Linked DNA regions of Homo sapiens: region 1 is linked to region 2. The links are contacts of gene promoters, found by promoter capture Hi-C in human tissues and cell types (Jung and others, 2019). All regions are on one chromosome and are shown on one strand. Each heading gives the region's core, a stretch centred on a gene start or on the middle of the fragment in contact. The rest is flanking DNA. Distances are from core to core; before and after follow the strand shown. Region 1 has its middle 62 kb from the start of PODXL. Region 2 holds the start of PODXL (podocalyxin like).

Evidence for each region. The method cuts DNA at HindIII sites, captures the fragments that hold promoters and counts their contacts. A contact is called where the count stands out against the background at its distance.
Region 1: a contact is called between a fragment that was not itself captured here and the fragment with the promoter of PODXL in region 2, in 8 of the 25 tissues and cell types used here (H1 embryonic stem cells, IMR-90 fibroblasts, dorsolateral prefrontal cortex and 5 more).

What each region holds. Positions count from the first base shown.
Region 1 is chr7:131,616,760-131,620,152 of GRCh38, forward strand. No RefSeq gene overlaps it. Among named protein-coding and RNA genes, the nearest start is that of PODXL, 62 kb to the left of the region's middle. The HindIII fragment of the contact is 5,865 bases long and covers 1-3,393 here.
Region 2 is chr7:131,554,854-131,557,902 of GRCh38, forward strand. PODXL (podocalyxin like) reads right to left here and starts at 1,775. Exons shown (of 9, transcript NM_001018111.3): 1 at 1,407-1,775. The coding sequence starts at 1,506. RefSeq lists silencers at 1,396-1,905, 1,986-2,045, 2,076-2,195 and an enhancer at 2,163-2,710. The HindIII fragment of the contact is 6,040 bases long and covers 1-3,049 here.

The DNA.
Region 1 (3,393 bases), core at 117-2,616, 61 kb after region 2:
GCACCACTGCACCTCGAGCTTGGGCAACAGAGCAAGACCCTGTCTCTGAGAAAAAAAAGAAAGAAAGAAAAAGATGTAAAGGAGCTCCGACACCAAGAAGTTTAAGGGCCACTGCAATGCAGGGAACATAATGCAGATAGCTGGATCCAAGGTTCTTGGAATTGCAGAAAGGTCAGAGGGCAGTGAGGAAGCGGAAGCCAGAGGGTAGCTGCATGGGGAAGCTGCCACTGCCCTCACGACTGGAAGAGCGGAGGAGGAGGAGGTGGTATTCTGATGATCATGAGCAGGAACTGACCTCAGGAGCTGGCATCATAAAGAAGGGACATGTGGCAGGACGAGAGCCCAGAGTCAGGGATACCTGGTGGGAAGCAGAAGCATGGCAGGGGCTGCCGGGTGGGAGGCGGAAATGTGAAGGAGATGCAGGTCCTGCTGGAGACCCCACCCACAGAGAGAGAAGGGGGAGAAATGCCCTTCTTGCTTGCTGTCTCCTGTTCCCCCATTTCATGGGATGACCCTGTCTGCTGTTTGGAAGCTTGTTTGCCGCAGAACTTGGGGAACAGAGCTTGCAGGAGTCAGCCCCACAGCAGTTCAGAACAGAGGAGAGCAGGAGAGGGTTAAGAATGCACCTGAGAGCAACAGGCGCACACCTGGCATAGAAAAGGAGGAGAGAACCAGGAGCTTGGCTTGAGGGAGCCACAGGAGTGAGAAGAGGATGTTCATGATGGGAGTATCTTGCACTGCAGTGGAGGCAGAGAGCCAATATAGAGGAAGACAGAGGTAAACCCAGTTCGGGTGGGCCTGGGACAGAAGGGAGGGGATGGTGGACTCTAGGCAGAATGGTTGGCCTTAGAGACAGTGGCCACTGGATCTACAGTTCCCATATGAAAAAGCTTGTTGGTGGCCAGGCACAGTGGCTCACGCCTGTAATCCCAGCACTTTGGGAGGTCAAGGTGGGCGGATCATGAGGTCAGGAGATCAAGACCATCCTGGCCAACATGGTGAAACTCTATCTCTATTAAAATACAAAAAATTAGTCGGGTGTGGTGGTGTGTGCCTGTAGTCCCAGCTACTCAGGAGGCTGAGGCAGGGAAATCGCTTGAATCTGGGAGGCAAAGGTTGCAGCGAGCCGAGATCGCGCCATTGCACTCCAGCCTGGCTACAGAGCAAGACTTCGTCTCAAAAAAAAAAAAAAAAAAAAAAGGAAAAGGCTTGTTGATCTAGCTGATTGGAACTGGAAATATAATAGGAAGCTTGTTTAGAAAAGCCGGGCGCAGTGGCTCATGCTTGTAGTCCCAGCACTTTGGGAGGCTGAGGCAGATGGATCACCTGAGATCGGGAGTTTGAGACCAGCCTGACCAACATGGAGAAACCCCATCTCTACTAAAAATACAAAATTAGCCAGGCGTGGTGGAGCATGCCTGCAATCCCAGCTACTCGGGAGGCTGAGGCAGGAGGATCGCTGGAACCCAGGAGGCAGAGGTTGCAGTGAAACGAGATCACACAATTGCACTCCAGCCTGGGCAACAAGAGCAAAACTCTGTCTTAAAAAAAAAAAAAAAAAAAAAAAAAAAAAAAAGAAATCGTTTGCATGCTTCTCTCGCTTAGGGTCTGTTTACTTGGGGAAATTTTTGGATATTGGGCATGGAAAGGCTAAAGCCATCTATCCCTAGGCTACTAATTTTTAAGTCTCTATCTGTAGTCTAGACTCCTCTCACATTCAACTATCTGCTAAAGATCTAAAGATCTCCACGCGGACGACAGGGTGTCCGTGCTCTTCCTCATGGCTTGGGTGACTCTGATTCACTCTTCCGGTCTTATCTGAAATGGGCTTCTTCCAGGAATCTGTCCCTGGCTCCTAGACTAGATTCCCATAGCTCTGGCTTTCTTGTCACTGGTTGTTTAATGTCCCTCCCTTCCCACTGGAAGTGTCCTGGAGCAGTACTTGGGATGAGGTAGGTACTTACTGCTTATTTGATGAGTGACTAATGACTGATTGTTATAAGGAGATGTGGAATTTTGGGATGTACCTCTAGGCTTACCTTGAGCCACTCTCCCCCGCCCCCCCACCCCGCTGCCTCCATAATCCCAGGGTGCCAGAGAAGAGAACCGAGCTGGGCACCTTTCCTTCCCTTGTGTACAGTTCAGAGAAGAGGAAGGAGCTTCAGGTTTAATCTGGCTATCATGTAGTGTCTGGGAGGTCTGCGTAAGCCACATCACATTCTCAGTTTCCATCTTGTCATGTCTCTGAAACGGAGACAGTAAAACCTGCCCTCTCCACCTCTTAAGGTTGCCAAGGTGAGAGTTACTGGTAAGATAGCACCAAAATACAAACTCAAATTCAGAGGAGCAATCCTCCCTGGCTTTAAGCACTGGGTGGCCCCTGATATCACCAGCCCAGTTGTTTATCTTCTCTGGAGAGGAAATGTTAACTGGAAGGTCTTCAAGGGAGACAGCTCTTTGGCTGTGGAGCTGGCCCATGTCTCACCCTCCAGCCATGGAGGGAGCCCAGACCATCCTCCTTCACCTCCCTCAGTGGGTACTCAACTCAGGTTCCCGCATGGGCAGCTGATGTGGAGAGTGAAATGGGCAAGACCCAGGAGTTCTGATTCCCCCATCTTTCTGGTACCATACAGGCTCTCCTTCTGGCAAGGACAAAAGAAAGAGGTTAGTCCTGAGGAGAGAGGAGCCTTCCAGAAGTGTCCCTTCCTGGAAGACTCAGCAGAGGCCCAGGCTTAGCTCTGGGATAAAAGGATTAAAAGCACGGCTCAGCCCTCCAAGGGCAAGGGGTGGAATGGCTGCCCCTGGGAGAGTAAACATGGAGGCTTGTTGGGGACAGGACAGGGGGGCAGGTGGGTGACTCTGTGCTACTCTTGCTGGCACTTCCTCCCCTGGCACTGCTGAGGCAGGTCTGTCAGGCACTGAGGAGGTGTTTCCTAGCTCCAGGCACTGGGCTTGACTCACTGGGCAGTGGGAGGCAGATGCCAGGCGAAAGGGCTTGTCTGAGAGGAAGGCCTAAGGTTCCTGGGGAGAAACGATCTCACTTCCTCTTTTCTCCAGCTGAAATGCCACACAGCCTTCCTTAGGTGCCAGTAGAGGCTCTGGGCCTGCCCCAGAGAAGTTTGAGAGGCTGCTACACACAGGAGACTGGAGGTGAGGTGGTCCGGAGGAATGCGGGAGCCCCCCTGGTCCTAATCCCCAGGGCCTGGTGGGAGGGTACGGCTGGTACAGACTAGGACTGCACTTTCACCAACATAACCCCTCTGAAGCCCAGAGGCCAGAATGTGTGAATTATAGACCTGGCCTCGGGGAGCTGTGGGCCTCACACCCTCTAGGGTAGATAAGGATGGATCAAAGGAAACTGCTTGGGCCCCTCCCTCACACATGCTCTTCCCA
Region 2 (3,049 bases), core at 525-3,024:
AGGAGCCACCATACTCTCGTGTCATCTCAACCCTGCATGTCGTGTGGCTCTTCAGTGATTGCCACTCTGAAAGCTGTTCTGACTGTTCCTCACACTGCAGCCCCTCTTCCAGGGACACACATTCTTCCCCCCGCCGGGACCTTCCCTTTCTAGTCAGGCTGGTGGAGTCTCCCGCCGGCCACAGGAGGATGCCCACGCCTGCCTGCTCCCTGAGTGCCAGCGCCTGCCCACTACCAAAGGTTTCCTGCGGTGCAGAGGAGAGACTGTACTGCCCTTCCATCTCCCCTGGCCCCTTAGAGTCCAGTCCCAAACTGCCGGCACCTGCTCACAGCAGAATCCCTACCCTGTCTGTGCTGTCCCCGCAGTCCTCCTGGCCCTAGGGTGATCACACCACCTCAGCTCTTCCTGCAGACATGTGCTCAGGTGGGCAAAAGAGAATGAGAAATGCACCTCTCCCGTGGGGCTGAGCTGACTCTGGCTGTTCCCTAGGGGCTTAAGAACACCTGTTCTGGTTGAGTTTGCAGCCATCGCCTGTCCCCCAAAAGGGAAAGAGTAACATTTCACCTTGAAAAGAAACAGGGAGGGGATGTTTCTGAGGTGCAGGTGTTTCATGAGAGACAGGTACATTTTCTAAGGTGTGTCTAAAATGCAGCCCAATCCTATTCTACGAGAGAGAAGTTCCCGTTTGAACAAGTTCCCGTTTGAACAAGAGGATTCGAGGGGGGTCTCACCATCGTAGCCACGCACTAAGAAGCGATTGTTTTAGGGACACGGAGGTAGGACCCCCACTCAGCCAGGTGACTCTGGGACTGTGGAAGGTCCACTTACGACTCTGTACCTGCCCCAGCACGGGCTCAAGGAGTTGAGCCTGCACACATTACTTAGAAAAAACCTCTGCAAACGGGTAAGTACATCGCCCGCGTGGGCCGTGGCTGGAGGCTTGTCACCTGCTTCAGGGACTTCCTCGGGAGCCTCTCGCCTGCCTCTTTGCCTGGAATTAACGAATACACACTACAGCCCCTCATTCCCTCCAACACGAAGGAAAGGTGTAATCAGATCCCGAGAGTCCCGCAGAAGCGTGGAGCCTCGCGGTGCGGTCTCCCTTTTCTTTCCCATGCAAACCCACTTAGCACCGGCGCGCCCCTGTTTGCCCGGGCAGAATCCACCGCCCACTCCTCCCGAGTGGAGAGTGGAGACGAATCTACGCCCAGGCCCTGCACCTGCCGCGCTGCGGAGTTTGGAGGGGGCGTGGATGGTGCAAGGTCAGGGCTCCGTGTGTGACCCCGGCGGTGATAGGGCTGCTCGGGGTCGGACCACGCGGCGCGCCGGGCTTCCCTGCAGCTCGGCCGGGCAGGGGGCACATGGGCACGGTGGGAGTCCCGGCGGAACCCAGGCCGGCCACTCACCATTCTGGGAGGGCGACGGCGACGGCGACGGCGACGACGGCAGCAGCGGCGGCGTTGACAACAGTAGCAGCAGCGCCGAGAGCGCCAGCGCGCAGCGCATCGTGTCGTCGCCTCTGGGCCGGGAGCAGGTGGCTGCGGTGCCGGCGGAGGATCCGCGCGTCCGGGCGGTAGGAGCGTGGGCGCCGCCCGGGGAGGCCTGTGGGTGGCTCCGGAGGCCAGGCTGTGGCCCGGGGCTCCCGAGTCGCGCTGCGGCGGCTCTTCCTCCCTGCCGCTGCAGCAGAGCCGGGCTGGGGCGCAGAGCCAGTGGCAGAGGAGCGGCGGCGGCGGCGGCTGCGTCCTGGGCGGCGTCTGCGCGGCTGCGGCCCCACTGGCGGCTGCGGCTACTCCTGGCCCGTCCCGTCAGCGCCGGCCCCCGCCCCCGCCCCCGCCCCTCCCCCTCCCCCAGGAGCCCGCCAGCGGCGGCGGCCGGGCCGGGCGGGGCCGGGGCCGGGGCTGGGCGGGCGCTGGGCCGTGAACAATGAGCAGAGGAGGAAACTCCGCCCTGGAGCGCGACGGGCGGGAGGGCCGGCGGCCTCCGCGCCTTGGGGGGCTGTGTGTGCGCGGGGGCCAGGGCGGGGGGCTCCTGCGGTGCAGCCGGGCCCCGTCCACAGGTGTCCCGAACAGGTGTGTCCCCCCGAGTGCTTCTAAGTGGGCCCGGCGGGATCCCCCAGCACACCGCCGGGGCCCTCGCACTACGAGCAAATCCGGAGCGGGCGGACCCCCAGCCTTGCGTGGTAACTGATAACCATTCACGGCCTCCCGGGCTGCTGCGCGTTCTGCAGCGACCCCGGAGAAGCTCATCTCCCACCTGCCAAGTGCAATTCACCTGCCTGTGGGGCCCCCATCCCGCACGGCTTCTGAGCGGGGTCTCTCTGCAGCTAGGTGTGCAGCGGGCAAGCTGGACTAATTCACTCCTTCACCTCTCCAAGGGTAGGTTCCTTACCTGTGAAATGGAGATGATGGTTAAAAAACAACAGCAACAACAATTTCAGGGATGAATGTGTGCCAGGCTTTACATATATTAATTCTTTTACTCTTCATGACAACCATATTTTTAGCCTCATTTTGCAGACAGGGCAATTGAGTCAAAAAGAGGTTAAGAAACTTCCTGAGGCCACATAACGGGTAAGTGGCAAACCTGCCTCTGAGAGAAGTTTGGAGAAATACCGTGCACCGTGCCTGGAATATAGTAATTGCTCTGCAAGGAGTGGTTATTACTCTTATTCCTGCTATATAAAGAACAGCTATAAAGATTAGGGCTTTTGGGTCAAAACAGGCTGGGGCTCAAAACCTAACTGTGCCAATCTATTAATTGTAAAACCCTAGGCAAGCTATTCTCAGTACCTCATTTCTTTTTATCTGTAAAATAGGGATAATAACACCTACCTCAGGGGGTTGTTGGGAAACTTAAATGTGATCTTACAAGATAATACTTAGCCTAGGGCCAGGAACACAAAAGTCTCAATGAATGAAGTAGTTCGCCCTCCAAGTGAGGATCAGAGATATTTGCACACTGGGGGTGGGAGTGGGTGTTGGAGAATTCCGTAAACTGAGTTTATCCGGTGAAAGAACAAAGAAGTTCCTTTCCCCTCCCCCGCTCCCCT